Regions from separate parts of the Homo sapiens genome. Here regions 1, 2, 3 and 4 are each linked to region 5. The links are contacts of gene promoters, found by promoter capture Hi-C in blood cells and fetal thymus (Javierre and others, 2016). All regions are on one chromosome and are shown on one strand. The core of a region is centred on a gene start or on the middle of the fragment in contact, and the rest is flanking DNA. Distances in the headings are between cores, read along the strand shown. Region 1 has its middle 110 kb from the start of CTDP1-DT. Region 2 has its middle 73 kb from the start of CTDP1-DT. Region 3 overlaps LOC284240 (a long non-coding RNA gene). Region 4 has its middle 44 kb from the start of CTDP1-DT. Region 5 holds the start of NFATC1 (nuclear factor of activated T cells 1).

Region 1 (2,700 bases), core at 149-2,648, 170 kb before region 5:
CTTGCCCTAAGCTCACGGGAAGAGTGGTGAGCCAGTGAGGGCACACAGGTCGGACCACCTGCAGAGAAAGAATCACCAATAACCAGCGCTTCCAAGGTGGCTGCGTCCACTGAGGCTTCTGTCCACAATGGGCTGTTTGCCCTGCACCCCCTCTGACACTGGCCCCGTCAGTCCTCTGGGCTTCAAGCCTTCTGTGGGGGGATGATGGCATCTCGTGGTTGTCCTCCTGATGAATGGTGACACTGAGCACCTTTCCAATGTGGACTGACCATTTGGATATCCTCATCTGTGAAACTCCTGTGCCAGTATTCTGCCCATTAAAAAAATAGAGCTGTTAGCATGTTTCTTATGGATATGTAAGTGTTCTTTATATATATTCTGGTTATTTGTTGGCTGCATGGACCACCAATCTCTGAGTCTGACTTGCCTCTTCTTTTTGGAATGATGTCTTTCGATGAACAAAAGTTTATCATTTTAACGAAGTCAAATGAGATTAACCTTTTCCTGTATGGCTTGGATTTTCTGTGTCCTATTTGACTGCCCTGAGCAAGCTTTGCCTGCCCTGAGCTCGTGGAGATGTCCTGTTCTTTCTCTTTATTCTTTTATGCTTCACTTTAGGGCCAGAATCCACCCAGGCCACACTTCTTCTTCCCTGTCTCTTCCCTTAGACAAATGGAGGAGACGGACAGCGGAGAAGTGGAGGGAGCTGGGGGGAAACTCAGAGCCCAGAAGCCGGAGCTCAGGGAAACCACGTCTTCTGTGTTGACTTCGCCATCTCAGGGGGAAAGGAAGATTCACACAGACTTGCCCGCTCCCCTTGGCTGACTTTAGGTCAGGAAATAGCATGTTCACTTCGGTATGTGGGTGACATCATCAGCATGGCCACTGAAACAGGAGGTGAGGCTGCAGACGGGCTGGGATCCGCCTTGGCGAGCAGAGGCCTGCGCCTCCCTCCTCCACGTCCCCAACACCCCAGATCCGTGACATCCGACACCGAGCAGCTCACATCGCAAAGGAAACACAGCCAGCCCTGCCGAGAGCTGCCTTTCAAAGTAGAAAAAAATCCCCGGAGCAAATGTGTGCACAGGCCCTGCATTTAGAAAGAGGCGGCTTAGCCAGACATAGCTGGAACAAACATATAAAAAACATCTGTGCCAGGAAGCCACTCGCCAGCCCCGCAGACTGGGGGCCCCCACGGTGCCCTTGAGGGGCAGCAATGGCCCCGCCGCGTGGAGCCCCCCGCAGCAGCACCACCAGCCGCCAGCAACAGCTTTGGGCTTTCCTGCTCCTCACTGAAAATGGGCCACAGGCTCCGGGACAGACCACCTGCAGCCAGCACCCCCTGACCAGGGGCGGCACCAGCGAGACCCAGACAGACGGACCAGCAATGCCTTTCCACTTCTTCTCATCCTAATGTCAGTTTTCTTTCTGGTCCTAAAAGTAACGTGATCCATTGGAGACAAGTTGGAAAATGCAATGCAAATATATAAAGAATATGCTACCAGTCACCCACAACTCCAGGCCTAAGACGTGGCTGCATTTTGGTGTGTTGTAATCCTGTCTCACACCTTAGTCTCGTCACAACAAAGGAAGCGTTTCAGGGACACAAAAGCCTTTACAGAATGAGGGCAGATCCCACAGCCTGAGGCCAGAGGGACGAGGATGAGGCCGGGCTTGGCGCCGGCCAGGGGTGGGTGCCCGGGCACCGAGGCGAGTCACTGACACCGTGCAGTTCGGTGGGGCCTGGGGAAAGGTACAGCAGGAGGATTGTGGGGTGGGGACAGAAGAAGAGAGTCCTCTGGGATGGGGTGATGGGGACACAGTGGGTTTCACGACCCGTGCGAGAGAGGCCGGGAAGAGGCGGAAATGAGGACGGGCCCTCGGGTCAGTGCTGCCGCAGCCTCCTCAGAGAAGCAGCTTCCAGGCTGCAACGACTTAGACCTGTTTGTGAAACAGCTGGTTGTGAAATCAATTTAATGAGTCCTAACGAGCATTTTCAAAAAGGAGCAGAGCAGCATGGAAGCACCTATTTCTATGACCATAATGGAAGTCGTGATTTCTATCAGGGAATCACTCATCAGAGGGAGTGCTGTTTCACAAACTCTTATTTCACTTCTGCGTGTACGTGCTGGTTGTGATGTACAATGTGCCTCTTATTGTGGGTCTCAGTTTAAAAAAAGTTGCAAAGCCCTGGCTTAGAAGAAGAAAGAATTCAGAGGCCACATGTGACGACAGTTTAAGCTTCTGTAGATGAGAAAGGGACGGGGCACTCTTGGAAGCAAGGATAGTCCAGGCGGTGGGGCACGCGGATGCGAGGCTGACGGATCTCACACAAACGCACAGGGCACGCTGAGTTAGTCCCCTCGGAGCTCCTCTGATGTAGCCACGGTCCCTCCAGAACCTGCTGCGGCTAAGCCCCATCCGTCTCTGCGGTGGTCCCTCGCTACGTCCCACTTTCTCTTGTTCCTCCTCCTTTCCCCAAGTGACTTCTCCGGAAATGACTCTTAGAACAAGCCCAGAAATGAGCTCCAGTAAAGACCCAAAGGAACAAGAAGGCAGGCGTGCACACGACCCGGGACCCTCACCTCAAAGGAACAGGAAGGCAGGCGTGCACACGACTTGTGACCCTTCACGCGGCCCCCCGCCGTGTCAGCTTCAGTCGCACACCTGTGTCACAGCATGTTCACAGCAAAAACAAGG
Region 2 (2,700 bases), core at 121-2,620, 210 kb before region 5:
GTTTCGCTGCCTTACCCAGCACAGCTGCCCCAGGCCGCTGGCCTCTCCATGCAGTGGATGGTGGATTGACCCGGCGTGAACTCTGTGCAGCTCCCGGAGGGGCCTGAGGTGCACGCACACCAGCAGTGGGGAGGGCAGTGGGGCTCAGGCACTGCGGGAGCGAGGGTGGGGGCAGCGCCCGTGGAGTTGACCCCGGAGCCACCCGTGCGCCAAGCCTGCCGGCATCCTCACAGGTACAGGCCACGCGGAAGCCCCCAAGAGGGCGTGAGCCCCGGCTGCGTTTTAAGCCCTGGAGGAGGGGATGTTGTGAGTGGCTTCAGACTCCTGTGCCCTGGTCCGTGGGCCAAGGACTGGGGCTGGCATCTGCACTCGGTGCTGAAAGCTTCCAGCAAGAAGACTTGGAGCTTCCTTTCTAAGGCATCTCCCTGGCTCTCAGGAGTCTCTGCGGAGCTGAGGGTGCCCGTGGCCTGCCCCAAAAGGCCCAGCAGCCCCAGCGCCCTCCTCTCTGGGCCTGGACCCACAGTGAGGAGGGGGCCACGCTCCTCAGGGGTACTGAGGGCAGGGACAGGAAGATTGTGGGAAGTGCCTGGCTCGAGTGATCAGCCTCCGTCCCTCTGGCCCCATGGAGACGGGGCCTTCGGGCCCTGATGGAGCTGCTCACCGGGGCTCAGGCCTTGGATCCCCCCACAGGGCTGCTGTCCCAGGAGCAGAGGTCCCTCCCTGTGCCCTGGCCCTTGAGGCCCCTGGCGTGTTGCTGGTGTGCATTAGTGTGTGCACAAGAGTTAGCTGGAGGCCCTGCCTGCCGCGTGGCTGCTGTTGTGTCTCCACAGGCTGTGGGGCAAGAGGCAGAGCATGTGTGGTCTGTGCTCGGCCGCCCCAGGCCTGGCGGAAGGGCTGGGCAGGCTCCTGTGAGCGCTGTGAACGCCGGGCACCCCCCGCGGCGCCGTCTTCCTTCCTCACCTCATGGAACCCTCTTGGCGTTTCACACGCGGGGACTCTGAGGGCGGGTTGTCGGGGACAGCACTCCACGGCCTCTTGTGGCATGTCCAGATGATCTTTTCAAAGACATCTGCAGGAGGCAGAGACGGTGCCTCGCCTGGGCCGGGGCAGTGGCTCCCTCCGCCTGGGATCTGGGGTCTCCCTGCCAGGGCTCCCTGTGTGTGTGCAGGTCCCGGGCCTGGCTCCAATCCTCAAAACCACCATTGCTGTGAAAACCACCCTGGAGGGTCGTGTCTCTGGCCAGCAGCCATGAATCCCGCAGGCCATTGAGGCTCCTCCGTGTGCAATCTCAGTGCCTTGTGCAGCTGGACGTGTGAGGAGCTGCCAGGGCCGTGGGGAGCCGGGCTGGCCCTGGCCAGAGTTGTTTCCCTGCCCCACACCCTTTCACCATTTCGCAGTCTCCACGAGTGTCCTGGGTCTGTGCATTTTCGCACATGGACTGCAGTCCTGGAGAACTGGGATGTGGAGGAGGTTGGGAGCAGTGGTGACAGCAGGGCCAGAGGCGACACAGAGCAGAGGAGCAGAGACCAGGTGAGGAGCAGAGACCAGGTGAGGAGCGCAGACCAGGTGAGGAGCACAGACCAGGTGAGGAGCAGAGACCAGGTGGGGAGCACAGACCAGGTGAGGAGCAGAGAACAGGTGAGGAGCGCAGACCAGGTGAGGAGCGCAGACCAGGCGAGGAGCAGAGACCAGGCGAGGAGCAGAGACCAGGTGAGGAGCAGAGACCAGGTGAGGAGCAGAGACCAGGTGAGGTGAGGAGCGCAGACCAGGTGAGGAACGCAGACCACGTGAGGAGCGCAGACCAGGTGAGGAACGCAGACCACGTGAGGAGCAGAGACCAGGCGAGGAGCAGAGACCAGGTGAGGAGCAGAGACCAGGTGAGGTGAGGAGCGCAGACCAGGTGAGGTGAGGAGCGCAGACCAGGTGAGGAGCGCAGACCAGGTGAGGAACGCAGACCACGTGAGGAGCGCAGACCAGGTGAGGAGCGCAGACCAGGCGAGGAGCAGAGACCAGGTGAGGAGCAGAGAACAGGTGAGGAGCGCAGACCAGGTGAGGAGCAGAGACCAGGTGAGGAGCAGAGACCAGGTGAGGAAGGCAGACCAGGTGAGGAGTGCAGACCTGGCAGGGAACGTAGACCTGGCAGGGAACGCAGACCTGGCGGGGAACGTAGACCTGGCGGGGAACGCAGACTGGGTGTGGGAGCCCCAGCACACAGAGGAGCGCAGACCCAGTGGGGAAGCCAAGGCACGAGCTCGGGAGCCGGCGAGGGGTCCAGGTGCTGGATGAGCAGAGCAGGGTGGGCTCCGGGCCACGGGCAAATGCAGAGAAGGAGCCCTGGGGGAGGCAGAGGGAAGCTTTGCTGCGCAGGAGGGCGAGGAGGGGCATCCCTGGCTCTGGGCACACAGGTGGAGACAGAGGACAGCTGTGCTGTGCTGCATTTTCTGATGGAAAAGATGATAAACTATGTTCACGCTGCCAACAAATACTAAACAATGGCTTTCTCTAAAGCTTAAGAATCATTATGCTAAATAGTAAGTTTAGGGGAGAAGAGACAGAGTCCCCTTACAGAAGAACTCCGGAGAATTTGGTTGGATGCTACACCCTCAAGAAATAAAGTAGTGTTGGGTTACAAAGACATAAAGTAAGCGTCCAAGAATCCATACTCTTGTAACTGACTGAAGAAGTACAGAAATGTGAGGA
Region 3 (2,700 bases), core at 152-2,651, 190 kb before region 5:
GAAGCCTGGGCTGTCCCCTCTCCCAGCTGGCAGAGGGCCCTCAGGTACGATGGAGAGTGAGACATGCAGGGTGGGGAGGGCAGGGCAGGTGGCAGGGAGACATGGAGGGCGGGGAGGGCAGCAGGGACAGGCAAAAGGAAGCAGCCCCACCCCTCTATGCCAGGAGCACCCCATACCATGACTGTGACAGCCACAGATGCCTCCAGACATGACCACGTGTTCCCTGGGGACAGAACCACCGGGCAGAGCACGTCCAGGCTTCCGGGGATCCCCGGAGGTGGCTGCCTCCTCACGGCGTCTCCCCATCCTTCCCCATCTCCCTTCTCCCTCCCCCGTCCCTGGAAAGGTCTGCTTCAAACCTGTGAGAAATGACTAGGGGCGGCTGTAAAATCAAAACCTTCCCCTCAGGCCCAGAGGAAAAATGAGCCACTTCCATTTCTTGGCGCTTTTCCCTGTGAGCCTTGGACAAGCTTCCCGAGGCCTGGCCTCCGCCCAAGCAGCCGGTCCCTCCCAGGGGCCTCCCCGTCGGGCTTCCTCGTCCTAAATGGAGTTGGAGGCGCCTCAGCAAACCCAGCGATGGGGCGAGGATTTTCAGAGCGGGCCCTACCTGATGATGGGAGGGATCATGTTTTCTCCAATATTGCCAGAATAGCAGTGTTGTAAAGGTTGCTACAGAAACACCTCGGGTCAGCGCCGAGTCCAAAATAGAGCGTCTAGACAAACTCCTACTGTCTGACCTTCGACGTGTTTCCTAATCCATCCAATCTTGCCAAGCAAATTGGTGACTAAGCAGCAATTCCCTTTACACTCTGTCATAAAGGCCTGACGAGGCCCAGGCGCTGTGCTACATTTCAGTCTGGCTGTGGCGGCCGCTCCACCCGCACGGCTCCCACGTGGCTTCCCAGCGCGATGTGTGCCTGGGTCGCCATGAACTAATTTCAAGGCCGAGTCCAAAAGCCACAGGGCTGCCGGAAAACAGAACTCACTTTCAGCCAGCAGGGCCCCAGAGTTGACATAAAATGTGAAGAGGGAGTCTGGAGGCGGCTCTGGCGAAAACAAAATAGAAGTTGGGGACGGGCCGGCCCCAGTGGCCTCCCTCCGTGCAGGGGCTGGGAGGGGGTGGGGCAGCGGTTCTGCTAAATGAATAGAGCCAGCTGCTTGGCGAGGCCGAGCCCCTCCTCTGTCTCCCCTGCAATGCTCTGTCCTGAGCCTCTCAGTCACCTGTGTGAAGGGACTCAGACGCAAGGAGAGTTGTGCTCTGCTCTAAATAAGCACAGTGGAGACCCTGATGTGGTGGAATGGGGCGGCTTCCTTTTGCCCTGAGTCCGAGGCTCTGGGTTTCGGGCACTTGGGCTGGGCATGCTGCAGGTGGGACGGGGCTGAGGCTCCACTGGGCAGGGGCATGGAGCTGCAGAGCGGGCACTTTGCGGTGAGGGAGGTGGTGTAGGCTGGGCAGAGTGGGACGTGGGCGGCCTGGGGGACACTGAGATTCATGGGTCGGGGGCAGGGGCTGCCCCGGGTGCTGCCGCGGGTGCTGCCGCCGGCATGGCCACGCATCTGGCTTCTGTGCCTCTGGTGACCAGGCTATTTCCACAGATGGCAAAGCTGGCTGTAATTGGGGTTGCTTCCCCAGGGACAAACCACTGGTCCTAAAATGGAAGGCGAGGGAGGGGAGAAGACTGTTTTACTGGAAAAGAGGCCACTTTGCCAGAACCACGTTGGTGCCACAAAGTGAGGAATACCTGTCTCTCCACACTGGTGCCAGTTGGCCCATCGCTGTAGCTTAACTGTCCAAAAAAGGAAAAAGAAACACTTCCACCAGATAGTATAACTCTTGGACCGGAGAGTGAAGTGGAAGCCTCACTCTAAACCTTTCTGCAGCTGCACGCTGGGCCTGGCCGGAGTCCCGCCGAGCAGAGCGGAAAGTGAGCCGGTACCAGTGCTCGTGGCAGGGTGAGCCTTGCGTGTGCTGCGTCTTGAAGGGGGCGGCTTTGCGGCTTAGCATGTCGCTTTTCTATACATACCAGAAACGCAAGTTTTCCAGAGTCCTCTGGCCAGAGGTGGGTGAGGCATTGGCAGTTCTTCAGAAGACACAGAGAAGCCTACATGTTTCTCTGAATTTCTCATAAACTGCCCCTGGCTGGCGCTGAAGCTCCTTCAGAGGCAAAGAGCTTCAGACGGGCGATGCCTGCCCGTTGGCCCCTGGCAGACCTGCCAGCCTCCAGGCTGAGAGCAGGGTTCCAGCAGCATCTGAGCAGCCAGGCCCAGGTCTAGCCACCGCAGCCCGCACAGGCCTCTGCAGCCCCCGACTCAGCGGCATGGGTAAGCTTGGCTCCGCGGGGCCACAGCAGAGCCTGGAGACACAGAGGCTATCCCTGCAGTGGCACCTGGGAGATGCCACTAAGCCGTTGCCTGCAGCCATGACTCAGCCCAGCAGTCCAAGTGCTAGACGGAGAGCTGCTCCCATCTACGGGGTGCCCACTGGGTGGGCAGGAGTGGGGCAGGCGAGGGGAAAGCTCCTGCCCACATCTCCTGGGCTCTGCGGCCTGTGCTGCTGGGTGCAGGGGGGCAGTCCAGGGACTGAGCAGGACTGTGCCACGGTGAAGAAAATCCACCTCCACCAGGGCCTCCACCACCTCCATCAGGACTAGAAACTGAGCAGGACTGTGCCACAGTGAAGAAAATCCACCTCCACCAGGG
Region 4 (2,700 bases), core at 124-2,623, 240 kb before region 5:
ATTTTAAAATGCAGCATTTCAGAAGATGTAACCCTTTATTAAGACCATTTCACCCCTTGTAGATGTTGGCGTGTTCTAGGTAAATGTCTTTCCCCAAAGGGACTTCGTCCCTCGGAGGCCTGGCCGGGCACCCGGAGCGGCTCTGCAGGTGCGGAGGGTCCGTGTGGAGGCCGCGTCACTCGGAGCAGGCTGTGGGCTATTGGTTTGTTCATTTAGATTTCGGATTTTTTAGTGGTGGATTCCCATTTATTTTAAATTTCAGATGGCTTTTCTGATGTTTCCGAGGAGTTTATAACAGCTCTTTGGGCCTCCTCATGCTGTTTATTTTCTTGTAAATTTGTCTGAGTTCATTGTAGATTCTGGATATTAGCCCTTTGTCAGATGAGTAGGTTGCGAAAATTTTCTCCCATTCTGTAGGCTGCCTGTTCACTCTGATGGCAGTTTCTTTAGCTGTGCAGAAGCTCTTTAGTTTAATTAGATCCCATTTGTCGATTTTGGCTTTTGTTGCCATTGCTTTTGGTGTTTTAGACATGAAGTCCTTGCCCATGCCTATGTCCTGAATGGTAATGCCTAGGTTTTCTTCTAGGGCTTTTATGGTTTTAGGTCTAACGTTTAAGTCTTTAATCCATCTTGAATTAATTTTTGTATAAGGTGTAAGGAAGGGATCCAGTTTCAGCTTTCTACATATGGCTAGCCAGTTTTCCCAGCACCATTTATTAAATAGGGAATCCTTTCCCCATTGCTTGTTTTTCTCAGGTTTGTCAAAGATCAGATAGTTGTAGATATGCGGCATTATTTCTGAGGGCTCTATTCTGTTCCATTGATCTATATCTCTGTTTTGGTACCAGTACCATGCTGTTTTGGTTACTGTAGCCTTGTAGTATAGTTTGAAGTCAGGTAGCGTGATGCCTCCAGCTTTGTTCTTTTGGCTTAGGGTTGACTTGGTGATGTGGGCTCTTTTTTGGTTCCATATGAACTTTAAAATAGTTTTTTCCAATTCTGTGAAGAAAGTCATTGGTAGCTTGATGGGGGTGGCATTGCACACGTATGTTTATGGCGGCACTATTCACAATACCAAAGACTTGGAACCAACCTAAATGTCCAACAATGATAGACTGGATTAAGAAAATGTGGCACATATACACCATGGAATACTATGCAGCCATAAAAAATGATGAGTTCATGTCCTTTGTAGGGATGTGGATGAAACTGGAAATCATCATTCTCGGTAAACTATTGCAAGGACAAAAAACCAAACACCGCGTGTTCTCACTCATAGATGGGAATTGAACAATAAGAACACATGGACACAGGAAGGGGAACATCACACTCTGGGGACTGTTGTGGGGTGGGGGGGAGGGGGGAGGGATAGCATTAGGAGATATACCTAATGTAAATGACGAGTTAATGGGTGCAGCACACCAGCATGGCACATGTATACATATGTAACTAACCTGCACATTGTGCACATGTACCCTAAAACTTAAAGTATAATAATAAAAAAAAAAGGAGATAAGGTTAAAAAAATAAAAAAAATAATAATCAAAACGCTTCTTCTCTCAAGGAATGTACAGTTTAGGGAAGAGGCAAAAATAAGTAAATATTCCAATAAGTATTGGGGGAAGGGCACAGAGAGCCAAAAAAGACCACAGGAAAAGGGATGTCTAGGATGTGTGGGGGGGTCACGGAGGGACCCAGAAGACAGAGCGTTTCAGAGCAGGTGGGATGGCGTGGCTTGTTAGTGAATGCCAGCAGAGCATTGGTGGTGTTTGCTGTTTATTTTCAACATCTTTTAAAATACAAGGGTAAACTAGCATTGAATTTAATTTGCCTTAGTTTCTTACCAGTTCCAAGCTAAAATATTATTACAAAATCCACGACCCCATTGAAACATGCGCTTGTGCTTTAGAGTATGAAAACATTGTGACGTGTGATGTGGGGACCGACGGGGCCGTCAGTGATGGCGCAGTTGAGAGGCTGTGACGTGTGATGCGGGGACCGACGGGGCCATCAGTGATGGCGCAGTTGAGAGGCTGTTCCCGGGGAGTGATCAGGAGCCACTGTCTCGGCCGCTGTCTCTTCATTCTCATCCCATTCCCCGAGGCCCTAAGGAACGGCGGGATTTGGATTTGATTGAGTAGCTCCATCCCTGTCGCGGAGCACAGGGGACAGCACCGCGGAGCCTCCACTCTCTGTGGATGTTTCGCCAGGGTTTGCAAGGAGGAGTAAAACTTGTCCTGGCCGCTCAGGTGTCTCTCCCAGGTTAAGACAGGCGCTGGTCACTGTGCCTTGTCTGCTGAGGGCATAGCCAGGAGTGTGACCGTCCAGGGATGGGGTGTGCGCTGGTGCCATGCACGGCAGAGTGGCCATGCTGAGACACCGTCTGGGAAGGAAAGCTCACTTTCTGGGAAGGAAAGCTCGCTGACTCAATGAGGAAGCACCAGCTGTGAGGCCTGAGTGAGCAGCACAGACACTAGGCATGTTCCTAACACTTGGGGTGTTCCTAACACTTGGGGTGTTCCTAATGGGACTGGACAAGTGTGGATGCCGTGGCTGGGACCCTAGTGCAACAGAAAGGGGGCAGGGGCCCGGTGGGCCTTCCTCTGCATGGGCTTCATTCTCACTGGAGGACAGGAGGGGGCAGCTGGGTGGCCCAGGGAACAAAGCCCAGCTGACTGTATCCAGGAGCTGTCCAGGAAC
Region 5 (2,794 bases), core at 225-2,724:
AGTTATCAGGGTCGCGCAGGAAGCGGCAGCGCTCGGAAGGACGTCTGCCCTTATGAAGTACATATGTTGGCAGGTGTGCTGGCGCTCTTTAAATAAATTATATAAAATATTTCAGAGCTGGTAAGGAATTTGGAAAAGCGTCTTCCAATTTCCATTAGCATTGCAATCCCTAATCCCTAACTCGTATGCTCACACCTCTGCAAGGGTATTTTCAAAGCCACTTGCAGGAGCCCACCCGGCATCGCCAGGGGTGTGTGCCGGGGACGGGCTAAGGTGGGGGACTGGAATGTGAGATGCGCCGCAGGGGGGTCTCAGCGCCCCCCACACCGGGTTTCAGGGACCCACACTGTGCCATCTTTTTTTCACTATAAAGAAGCAGCTCGAAACTTGGCGGTTCCTTTTCAAACTTGCCTGAAACATCTTCTCTGGCTGGAACTCCTGCCTATAGGATTTCAAAATGGCTTAAATTCGGGGCTGTGCTGCGGCCGCGCTTTGGATCTTTTGGTCCTGCAGGTCCAGGAGCCGGCGTGACGGGCTCGGCCCTGGGGAATTCAGGGGCGCGGCGCGAGGGAGACGCCGCCACGAGCTCGGGGTGGGGGTGGGGGGCGCAGAACCCCCAAACCGCGATCTTGGCGCCAGAGGGTGGCTCTGCCTCGCTCAGGAAGACACGGGGCATCCTTCACTCCCAAGGAAGCCTCCCTTCCTCCCTCCCACGTGCCCTCTGTGGTCCTGACGGCCCAGCCTCGCCCGTCCCCAAATCGCCGGCCTGCGAGCCGCTTCCTCGGCGGGACCCGCGGCGGCCTCGCCTCGCGCCCTCAGCGCTGGGGCAGAGGAGACACCTATTGGCAGAAGGCGCGCTCGGAACCGGGCTGCTGGGAGCTGGGGGACGCCGTTCCCGGTCCGCGCCGCGCCCCTCCCTGGGCGCACAGACCCGGCCGACCTCGTTCTCTGGCCCGGACCCCTCCGTGCGGGCGACGGGGGCGGGGTCGGGGGGCGCGGCCCGGGCCGTGGGGGGCGCAGGGGTCCGGGGGCGGAGGCCGCGCGGGGCTTACCTTCCTCCGCTGACTTCATGGTGCCGCCGGCGCGCGGCGCGGGCCCCAAAGTTTCTCCTCTCCCGAAGACCGCAGCCGCAGGGCCAAGTGGAAACTTGGAAGGGACTGGAAAGCTGGTGCTTGGCATCCGCGCGGCGGCGGCGGGGAGTGGAGCGGCGGGCGGAGGCACAGGAGAAGCGGCCGCCCCGCGCTGCCGGGGTCGGGTCTCCGGGAAGACAGCCCTCGCCCCGGGCTCAGCGCCGCGCGCCCCGGAGGAAAGTCATCGAGGGGCGTGTGCGCGCGTGGCGGGGCCCGGCCGCGGCCCTAGGACCTGCGCGGTGGCTCCGAGCCCTGCCCGCGCCCCGGTGCCCGCGCCCTGCTGCTGGGATCTGGCGCGGCGACTCCGCCGGCGAGTTCGGAGCCTCTGAGTCTCGCTCTGACGCAGGGCCGCGCTCTGCCTCCTGCCTTTTTAAAGCTGGAAAACACCTCCCCCGCCTCCCCGCCGGCCCGGCGGCTCCCGCGCCCCCTCCCTGCCGTGACATCACGCCCCTGCTGCCCGGGCCCGCGCGGGGCCCCGGGGACGAGTCGCCGAGCGCCCGCCCCTCCCCGCGCCGCGGCAGCCGCTCGCCTGGGGGCAGGGGCGCAAGAGGCGGGGCGCGCACGGGGAGGGGGGGCGCACGGGGAGGGGGGGGCGCACGGGGAGGGGGGGCGCCCGGGGAGGGGGGCGCCCGGGGAGGGGGGGCGCACGGGGAGGGGGGCGCACGGGGAGGGGGGGCGCACGGGGAGGGGGGCGCACGGGGAGGGGCGCACGGGGAGGGGATGGGGGCGTAGGGGCGGGAACGGGGAATCCGGGGGCCGGGCAGGGGGGCGCTGGGGCTGGCGGGGGAAACGGGGGCGAACGGGCCAGACGGGACGCCTGAGTCCACGCGGGTGTCCGGAGGGAGCCCGGCCCTGCTGGAAAAGGGGCGGGGGGCGGGGGCCGGGGGCCGGGGAGGGGTGTCGAGAAAGCCCGGCATGCTGAAGTCATTATGTAAAATCGCAGGCTTCCCCCGCTGTGGAAATTTGGAAAAGCGCTTCACTGGCAGGCCCTAGAAAGGAAATTCCCATCCCGCTAAATTACTAACAGATTGCGTGGCCGTCCCGGGACGTCGAGTTATTGTCATTTTTATTCTGTAAATATCTGCTCGACCTAGACGGCCTGTGGCAGGGGCCGGCGTGGGGAGGCCCGGGGACGCGCTCACCTGCCCTAGCCGCCCGGAGGGGGCGTTTTATGGGCGCGACTGCGCGACTTCTGACGGGGGGAGGCCCCCCGGCCACTCACACTTTCCTCTCTTACGTCTCCCTGCGTCTCTTCGGGCGCAGCTCAGCTGCCAACACGGCACCGCATTTTCTTGTTGGCTTTGGATGGGGGGGGTTGGAGGTTAAAGTGTCTGGTGTGTAGAAACCATAAATCGATTGCACGACACCCTTATGTGATTTAAACTAAACCCAAAGGCTAAACTCGTGTCTGCTGCGGGGCCCAGGAGGTCCGCAGACCCCCAGGGATCACTGTGCCCCGTGGGTGCCCCCCACAAGCGCCTCCTCCCTGCCGGGGGAGGCGGTCGGGCGCTGCAGAGCCCGCGAAGGTGCGCGGCCAGAGCCCGTCCGTCCCGCGTCCCGAGGCCTGGCTCCATTCGGCCGCCCCGACTCAGCACAAATGGAACCCCGGCTTTTCCACCGCAGGCCTCGGCCTGGAGAGACGTGCCCGGATTAGCGGGGTGGTG

Evidence for each region. Contacts are between HindIII fragments. The CHiCAGO score rates a contact against its expected background, and 5 or more counts as called.
Region 1: a fragment that was not itself captured here is called in contact with the fragment with the promoter of NFATC1 in region 5 in 1 of 17 cell types (endothelial precursors); the score reaches 6.4 in endothelial precursors.
Region 2: a contact is called between a fragment that was not itself captured here and the fragment with the promoter of NFATC1 in region 5, in 1 of 17 cell types (erythroblasts). The highest score is 5.1, in erythroblasts.
Region 3: a contact is called between a fragment that was not itself captured here and the fragment with the promoter of NFATC1 in region 5, in 1 of 17 cell types (erythroblasts). The highest score is 6.5, in erythroblasts.
Region 4: a fragment that was not itself captured here is called in contact with the fragment with the promoter of NFATC1 in region 5 in 16 of 17 cell types (M0 macrophages, M1 macrophages, naive B cells and 13 more); the score reaches 16.7 in M0 macrophages.

The regions. Positions count from the first base shown.
Region 1 is chr18:79,566,149-79,568,848 of GRCh38, reverse strand. No RefSeq gene overlaps it. Among named protein-coding and RNA genes, the nearest start is that of CTDP1-DT, 110 kb to the left of the region's middle. The HindIII fragment of the contact is 1,690 bases long and covers 554-2,243 here.
Region 2 is chr18:79,605,241-79,607,940 of GRCh38, reverse strand. No RefSeq gene overlaps it. Among named protein-coding and RNA genes, the nearest start is that of CTDP1-DT, 73 kb to the left of the region's middle. The HindIII fragment of the contact is 1,972 bases long and covers 385-2,356 here.
Region 3 is chr18:79,587,186-79,589,885 of GRCh38, reverse strand. LOC284240 (a long non-coding RNA gene) reads right to left here. Exons shown (of 4, transcript NR_148949.1): 4 at 868-2,700. Among named protein-coding and RNA genes, the nearest start is that of CTDP1-DT, 91 kb to the left of the region's middle. The HindIII fragment of the contact is 1,857 bases long and covers 473-2,329 here.
Region 4 is chr18:79,634,803-79,637,502 of GRCh38, reverse strand. No RefSeq gene overlaps it. Among named protein-coding and RNA genes, the nearest start is that of CTDP1-DT, 44 kb to the left of the region's middle. The HindIII fragment of the contact is 5,621 bases long and covers 1-2,700 here.
Region 5 is chr18:79,394,610-79,397,403 of GRCh38, reverse strand. NFATC1 (nuclear factor of activated T cells 1) reads right to left here and starts at 1,474. Exons shown (of 10, transcript NM_001278669.2): 1 at 1,053-1,474. The coding sequence starts at 1,179. RefSeq lists silencers at 779-878, 1,239-1,638 and enhancers at 535-1,082, 2,724-2,794. The HindIII fragment of the contact is 8,960 bases long and covers 1-2,794 here.